Linked DNA regions of Homo sapiens: region 2 is linked to region 1. Evidence: promoter capture Hi-C in human tissues and cell types (Jung and others, 2019). All regions are on one chromosome and are shown on one strand. Each heading gives the region's core, a stretch centred on a gene start or on the middle of the fragment in contact. The rest is flanking DNA. Distances are from core to core; before and after follow the strand shown. Region 1 holds the start of SRL (sarcalumenin). Region 2 has its middle 44 kb from the start of ADCY9.

Region 1 (4,137 bases), core at 293-2,792:
AGGAGTTGGAGACCAGCCCGAGTGACATAGGAAGACCATGTTTGCAAAAAACAAAAAAATTAGCCAGATGTGGTGCACACCTGTATTCCCAGCCCCTCGGAGGTTGAGGTGAGAGGGTGGCTTGAGCCCAGGAGTTCAAGGCTGCAGTGAGCTATGATCGTGTCACTACTCCAGCCAGGGTGACAGAGACCCTGTCTCTTAAAAAAGATTAAAAAAAAAAAAAAAGTCAAGTGCCTACCAGATGCCTAATTCTTTTTTTTTTTTTTTTTTTTTTTGAGACAGAGTCTCGCTCTGTTGCCCAGGCTAGAGTCAGTGGTGCAATCTTGGCTCATGGCAACCTTCGCCTCCTGGGATCAAGTGATTCTCCTGCCTCAGCCTCCTGAGGAGCTGGGATTATAGGCACCCGCCACCACACCCAGTAATTTTTGTATTTTTAGTGGAGATGGGGTTTCACCATGTTGGCCAGGCTGGTCTCAATCTCCTGACCTCAGGTGATCCACCCGCCTCGGCCTCCCAAAGTGCTGGGATTACAGGTGTGAGCCACTGTGCCTGGCCCTGATTTAGTTCCTTTCCTCCAAGGCTGGCTTCTACCTCTTCCCCACACAGTGACACTGTACCCCGACCAGACAAGCAAGTGTCTGCTTTCCCTTGGCTTCTTACAACTGGCTCTCTGGGCCATCTACAAAAAATTTTAAAAAATTAGTACAGCATGGTGGCACTACTGTCCTAGCTACTTGGGAGGCTGAGTTGGGAGGATTGATTGAGCCTGGGAGGTCGAGTGCAGTGAGTGATGATTGTGCCACTGCAGTCCAGCCTGGGTGACAGAGCGAGATCCTCTATCAAAAACAAATAAACAAAAAAGCACTTTGCAGAGGTGACTGAATGTTCTGGAACCCCTGGGCCATTGGAAATGGATATCTGTTGCTCCATCCTCCAGTTTACACCGTAGCCTCAGCTTGTGTCTCAGTGTGCCCCTCTCCCTCTGGTCTGTGCTCTCTCTCTTCCAGAGGCTGGGAAGGTTGTTCCAGGGCTGCAGCCTTGGACCTCAGAGGTCACATGTTGCGGGTTTGCCGTAGCTGACCACTCTCTAGCATGTGGATCAGTGGCTGTTAAATAGGATTTCTTTTGCGTGGCCTTACAACTTCCTCCTTCCAGTGCAGGCGTGTCAAGGTCCTTAACCTGCCGAGACTTCAGGTCAAGTTATTGCAAGTTCTGGGAAGACTCAGCTTCCCAGCTCCACCGCCTGAGCCCAAGGGATGCTCCATTTTATGCCTGTCACCCACGCCCTGTGACCCATGTCATGTGATCCCAGGGCTGCAGGGGTTCGGGGGAAGAGAATCCAGCCACGGCCCTGCCTTCTGGGGCCTGGCAGCTGGGACAGCAGTGGCGCAGCCTGAGCCTCTGCACAGCCTTCTGGGGTCCGGGCTTCTTCCCCATCACACCCTCCTAGTTGCCCTGGTGACTGTGTGACCCCTCTCCCCCCTCCACCGCCTGCTGCCACGGCCGGCCGTATAAATAGAGGCGAGGAGCAGCTGGGCTCTCTTGGCAGTCACCATGAGGGCGCTGGTCCTGCTCGGCTGCCTCCTGGCCTCGCTCCTGTTCTCAGGACAAGCAGGTAGGGCCCCTCCCAGCATGACCCAGCCCAGACTGGTCCCCCACGCTTCCTCCAAGGTTTTCTGTCTACCATGGGTTGGGTAGGGGGTCGGGGCTGATGGCAAACCCTGGCTCTTGGCTGGTGTCTTCTTACCCTTCTCTTTTCCCCGGGCCTGGGGCCTCAGAGAAAGAGCTGGGTGCTGGAGAATAGCAGCACAGTTGCGGGGCCCTCAGGAAGGCCAGAGGAAGTGGGAACGGCAAACAGAGCTGAGCTGTGAGCCAGGGTCAGAGAGGAGTCTGGCCAGTAGATGTGGGAAAGAGGGCCCTCAAAGTCGAGACGGGGGAGCCTCTGAGACGGACAAAATAGCACAGTCTGGGAGCTGGAGGTCGTTGAGGTGACCCTCCCACCTGGTGGGATATAAGGCGGAGGCCCCACTCGGGTAAGAGAACTGGGTTTGCGTGGACAGAAGGGGATACAGTGGGCAAAGGTGGGGACCGTTTTGGGAGCAGTGAGATAGAATTGGAATTGGTTTGGGATAAGATCGGAAATAGAGTTGGCGGTTGGGCTGGAAACAGCATTGGATGCAATTCAGAAGAGGAACGGGGCCCGTTCTGGAGTAGAGCCTCTGCTCGGGGTGGGGGCTTCCATCAGAAAAGGGGCTTGGCTCTGTGTGCTGAGGCTTCCCTTTGACATCTCAGCACTTTGGGTAGCAGAGGTGGTGGCTTGGGTTGCAGCATGGGGGTTATCTATAGGCTATGGAGGAGATGCCAGATTGTTTTGCCACCTCTCTTGTTCCTAAGGTTCCTGAGGCCAGGTTCCCCGAGGGAATGCTTTTAGGGAGGTGCTCCGGGGATCCCCCTAGGATCCGGACTGCCCACCGAGTCTTTTCATGACTCGGCAGTCTTCCCCCAAGCTGGGCTCTGAGCCTAGGTCCGTACCTGGGACTGGAGAGGCCCAGAGTCCAGCCTCTCAGGTCTTTGAGGTTGAATAGGGGGTTGCAGGGGCACAGTCCCTGCAGGGAGAGCAGGCAGTGGGTGGGAACAAAAGCTATTTCTCGGGGACTCAAGATGTAAGGTGGGGGGCTCCAGCCACTGCATGTGCTGCTGGGCCCTGCCCTTGTCTGTCCTTGAGTTAATTTGGGCTCTGCAGGGCTGCAGCGGCTTGAGTGCTGAGTATTCCAGGCGGCTGTCAGGCGGCTAAGTATGGAAACAGCCGCGTAATTGGATCCGGAGCCCCAAGCCGCTGCCACCCTCTCCCTTCGTGGCCGCTCCTGTGCTGCCCCCCAGCCCCAGCTGCTGGGCTGCTACACACTGGGCCCCAGGAATTTTTGGCCTTTTAGGGACATCCTTTATCTTTCCTCCCACCGAGGGAACTGGTCATCTGGAATGTTCTGCAGGCCTCGCTGGGGGCTCTTGTCGTGGGGAAAGGACGCAGGCAGGTGCTTGTGCAAAGGTCCCTTCTCTCTGCTGTCTTTCCTTCCTGGGTCCCACAGCGTGCGTCTGCCCCTGGCCCAACCTCCGGCGTAAAGCTTCCCTCTGTCCCTGCTCCTGCTCAGCACTTGGGCTGTGGGTTTCATCCACTGTGGTGGATTTTATCAGGACTCTGCCCCACTGTGGACTGTATACCCCAGAATAGGCCTCCTCCTGCATCCACCGGCAGGTTCTAACCCACAAGGTGGCTTCCTCACGCCCCCATCATGACAGTCCTTCCTACTGGGTGATTTCCCCTTCAGAATTGTGCCACCCCGGTAAATACCACCCCACCCAAAGGTCACATCTTGGCTCCTGACCTCTTTCCCTCATCTCTCCGCTGTGTGCTAACTTCCCTCCCTATCATGCTTGCTCCTTGGCTGGGTGGCGGCAGATATTCTCGCTCACCACTCCCATCTGCTTCCTAGGCCAGGGACCCCACAGAGCTTCTCCTCCGGCTTCTCCTCCTTGTTGCTCGTGTGCAGCTCTGGCTGGGGTGGTGGGCTCTGCAGCCCTCCTTCTCGCCTCCCTGTGAGGAGACAAGCGCCCCTCTGTTACCAACCACCCGTCGCCCGTGCCCATGCCAGGACGGGGAAGGAGCAGCCAGGTGGGGCCTTACCCGGTTTCCACCTCCCGACCTGCTGCTGCACTCAGGCCTTTGTACCACCCACTGGGCCCTCCTCTTTGGGAGTCCTGGCTTGGGGCTGTTCCTCCTTAAAGCAGTGGGAAACGCCCCTAGCAATGATTTGATCGGTCTCCCCACCATCCAGGGAAGGGAAGGAAACCCAGAGAAACAGGAAAACTTTTCCGAGGTCAGACAGCGCGTCAGTGACAGGCACACCCGGGCCAGGGTCCTCTCCTTTCCTCAGCCCGTCTCTCTGTGACAGACCCTGCCTGCACTCCCAAGCCCCTCTCTCCCTGTACGGTGAGTGTGAAAGGAGGAGAAAGGGTGCAGTGGATAAGACCGTCCTGGGGGAGTTTCCCTAGTTTGCAGGGCGAAGAGCTATGCTTTTGGTTTCCCTGGAGAGCGAAGTCTGCTGAGAAAGCATTTCATTTCTTCGGGTTTAAGCCATT
Region 2 (4,281 bases), core at 1,170-3,669, 82 kb after region 1:
CCCAGCTAGAATTTCCTTGCTTTTTGTTTGTTTGTTTGTTTTGAGACGGAGTTTTGCTCTTAGTGTCCTGGCTGGAGTGCAATGGCGCAATCTCGGCTCACTGCAACCTCTGCCCCCTGGGTTCAAGCGATTCTTCTGCCTCAGCCTCCCGAATAGCTGGGACTACCGGCATGCGCCACCACGCCCGGCTAATTTTTGTATTTTTAGGAGAGACAGGGTTTCACCATGTTGATCAGGCTGGTCTCAAACTCCTGACCTCGGGTAATCCACCCGCCTCGGCCTCCCAAAGTGCTGGGATTACAGGCGTGAGCTACGGTGCCCAGCCTGTTTGTTTCTTTTTTGGTTATTTTTTGAGACAGGGTCTGGCTCTTTCGCCCAGGATGGAGTGCAGTGGTGTGATCTTGGCTCACTGGAACCTCTGTCCCTCAGGCTCAAGCCATCCTCCTACCTCAGCCTCTTGAGTAGCTGGGACTACAGGTGTGCACCACCGTGCCCAGTTAATTTTTGTATTTTTTCTAGAGACAAGGTCTCACTTTGTTGCCCAGGATGCTGGTCTTGAACTCCTAAGCTCAAGTGATCCGCCTGCCTTGGCCTCCCAAAGTGCTGGGATTGCAGGCATGAGCCCCCACGCCTGGCCACAGAATTTCTTTACTTTTTGGCCAGGCGTGGTGGCTCACGCCTGTAATCCCAGCAGTTTAGGAGGCTGAGGTGGGCGGATCACTTGAGTTCAGGAGTTTGAGACCAGCTTGGCCAACATGGTGAAACCCCGTCTCTACTAAAAGTATAAAAATTAGCCAGGCGTGGTGGCAGATGCCTGTGATCCAGCTACTCAGGAGGCCGAGGTGGGAGAATTCCTTGAACCTGGGAGGTAGAGGTTGCAGTGAGCCGAGATCGTGCCACTGCACTCTAGCCAGGGCGACAGAGCGAGACTCTGCCTCAAAAAAAAAAAAAAAAAAAAAATTCTTTACTTTTTAGTAGAGATGGGGTTTTACCATGTTGGCCAAAAAAATAAAAAATAAAAGAATTTTTTTTGTATGTATAGACCACATTTTGTTTATTCATTCATCTGTGGATGGACAGTTGGGTTGATGGACAGTTGGCTATTGAGAATAATGCTAGGGACAGGGTATACAGATACCTCCTAGAGGCCCTGCTTTCCATTCTTTTGGGTATATACCCGGAAGTGGAATCGCTGATAAATAGTTCCATTATTAGTTTTTCGAGGAACCACCATGCTTTTTTTCACAGCAGCTGCACTATTTTACATTTCCACCAACAATGTACAAGGGTTCCGATTTCTCCACATCCTGGCCAACACTCGTTATTTTCTGTTTTTTTTGACAGTAGCCACCCGGATGGATGCAAGATGGTATCTCATTGTAGTTTTCGATTTGCATTTCCCTAATGATCGGTGATGTTGAGCACATTTTCATGTTTTTGTTGGCTATTTATATATGGGTCATGAGTTCTTGATTAGTCAGTGCTATATGATGATGCTATACGTAGTTGTAGGAAATGTCCCTAACGGGGCAAAATGCTATGTTTTACATCTCTAGAGAGAGGAAGTAGATTGGTGGTTGCCTAGGGCTGGGGCAAAATGAGAGTGACTAGTAATGGGCAGGGCCTCTTTCTGGAAATAGTAAAATGTAGTGAATTAGATGGTGATGGTGATGGCTATACAATTCTAGGAACATACTAAAAACCATTGAATTGTACACTTTAAATGGGTGAATTTTATGTTCTGTAATGTCTCAATAAAACTGGTTTAATATGCTTTTTCTTGGAAAATAGACCTAAAACAGTAGCAGTGATGGTAGCAAAGGTTGCCACTTCATTGGCCAACTTTACCCAGTAGGAGGGGATGTTCCACATTTTTGGTGAATTTACAACCGAGAGGTACTCTCCTTGGGAAATCTGGAGGAGTGCCCCCTTGCAAGCTTATTTCCTGGCCCAGTGAGAAAGATCAGTGACTAATAAAGCTAGAGGAAAGATCACAAATGATTTAAGTTTAGAGTTGCTAGAAGCACATTTTAGTAGAGTTTGGGGTGGAGGGTGTCAAGGCCCCTTTCCAACAGTGATACCACCAGAGACCTCAGGTGTTACCGAAGAGAACATCGCCCCTTCACACCTCCTCTCTGTCCTTTTCAAAATGAGGAAATGGCTGGGTGCCATGGCTCATGCCTGTAATCCCAGCAGTTTGAGAGGCTGAGGCCAGTGGATCACCTGAGGTCAGGAGTTCAAGACCAGCCTGGCCAACGTGGAGAAACCCTGTCTCTACTAAAAATACAAAAATTAGGCCGGGCACAGTAGATCACACCTGTAATCCCAGCACTTTGGGAAGCCAAGGTGGGCAGATCACGAGGTCAAGAGATCAAGACCATCCTGGTCAACATGGTGAAACCCCATTTGTACTACAAATACAAAAATCAGCTGGGTGTGGTGGCACATGCCCGTAGTCCCAGCTACTCGGGAGGCTGAGGCATGAGAATCACTTGAAGCCAGGAGGCAGAGGTTGCAGTGAGCCAAGATCACGCCACTGAACTCCAGCCTGGGCAACAGAGTGAGAGTCCATCTCAAAACCAACAAACACCCCAAAAAACAAAATGAGGAAATGAATCCAGAGACAAGAAATAACTGGCCCTAGGTTCATGGCCAATTAGCAGCAGAGCCAGAGCTTCTAGCTCCCTTGCCTGGGCAGCTTCATTTAAGCTCCACGCGTCCAATCTAGCCCAGCCAACAGCCTCTGTCGCCAGAGCATCAGCTGCTGATGAGGAGCGGGGATGACGGATACCAACCGCAGCCCTCTCCAGAGGGCCTCCGTCCACGTGCACCGCAAATGTCTGACTTTCCCCACATGTGGCTCCGGCGGTTTTTGTTGGAGCAGCTTTCTCCCCTGTTTGTGCTCAGCTGCAACACCCTTCCTGCACCATCTGGAACGTGGCTAGGGCTCTCCATCACTTTGCCCACCCGCTCCGCCATGTTCTGCTGCGTGTCGGCCCACACCAACGCAGATCTCCTAAGTACAGAGAGTTCTGCTTTTATTGATTTCTGATTGCTCAGGGAGGAAACAATGCTGCTTGTCAAGCTTCAGAATCCTTGCACATAAGTAGTGACAGTTAAGAACAAGTTTGCAAAATCTTCCCCTTGGTCTGAACTACGGGCCTCCTCTGCCTACACACAGTCCTTGGCCCAGATCTGCATAGGGACAAGGTCAGTGGTTTAAAGGGGTTCGATCCCTGGGCTACAAGGTGGGCGATTCTGTCCCCTCGGCCTCTTAGACTGTTCCTCTGCCACAGCCCTGATCTTATTCTCTGAAGTCAGGAGTCCTAGAGAGCTCTACATAGTCTTGGAAAGTCTGGCCTGTAACTCAGTCCTTGTGCAAAGGGGAGATACTCCATCCCCTCTCCTCTCCAACTTCTTCTTCTCCTTCTCCTTCTCCTCCTCCTCCTCCTCCTCCTCCTTCTTCTTCTTCTTCTGTTTTTTTTGAGATGCTGTCTCGCTCTGTCGCCCTGGCTGGAGTGCAGTGGTGCTACCTCTGCCTCCCGGGTTCAAGCGATTCTCCTGCCTCAGCCTCCTGAGTAGCTGGGACTACAGGCCCATGCCATGACGCCTGGCTAATTTTTGTATTTTTAGTAGAGGTGGGGTTTAACCACCTTGGCCAGGCTGGTCTTGAACTCCGGACCTCAAGTGATCCACCCACCTCGGCCTCCCAGAGTGCTGGGATTACAGATGTGAGCCACTGCGCCTGGCCCAACTCCACCTTCTTTTTCTCTCCTTTTCTTTTTCTTTCTTTCTTTCTTTCCTCTTTCTTTCTTTCTTTTCTTTCACTTTCTTTCTTTCTCTTTCTTTCCTTTTCTTTCTTTTTCTTTCTCCTTCCTTCCTTCCTTCCTTCCTCTTTCTTCTCCTCCTTCTTCTCCTTCTCCTTCTTCTTTTTTTGAGACAGGGTATTTATTGCTCTGTCACCCAGGCTGGAGTGCAGTGGTGCAGTCATAGCTCACTGCAACATTGACCTCCTGGGCTCAAGTAATCCTCCAACCTCCGCCTCCTGAGTAGCTGGGACTACAGGCGTGCACTACAACGCCTGACTAATGTTTTGTTTATTTTTATGGAGATGGGGTCTCACTATGTTGCCCAGGCTGGCATCTTCTTTTCATCTCCAGATTTTCTCACCCTTGTGACCAAACATCATCCAGTTAGTATCCATGGGTAATGCTGTCTCAAAGATGTGGCTATTTTCTGCATGCCACTATGATAATACAGTTGGCTCGTTCATTTCATTTG

What was found. The method cuts DNA at HindIII sites, captures the fragments that hold promoters and counts their contacts. A contact is called where the count stands out against the background at its distance.
Region 2: a fragment that was not itself captured here is called in contact with the fragment with the promoter of SRL in region 1 in 2 of the 25 tissues and cell types used here (aorta and pancreas).

What each region holds. Positions count from the first base shown.
Region 1 is chr16:4,239,485-4,243,621 of GRCh38, reverse strand. It overlaps SRL (sarcalumenin), which reads left to right and starts at 1,542. Exons shown (of 6, transcript NM_001098814.2): 1 at 1,542-1,615. The coding sequence starts at 1,555. The HindIII fragment of the contact is 19,223 bases long and covers 1-4,137 here.
Region 2 is chr16:4,158,461-4,162,741 of GRCh38, reverse strand. No RefSeq gene overlaps it. Among named protein-coding and RNA genes, the nearest start is that of ADCY9, 44 kb to the right of the region's middle. The HindIII fragment of the contact is 4,692 bases long and covers 74-4,281 here.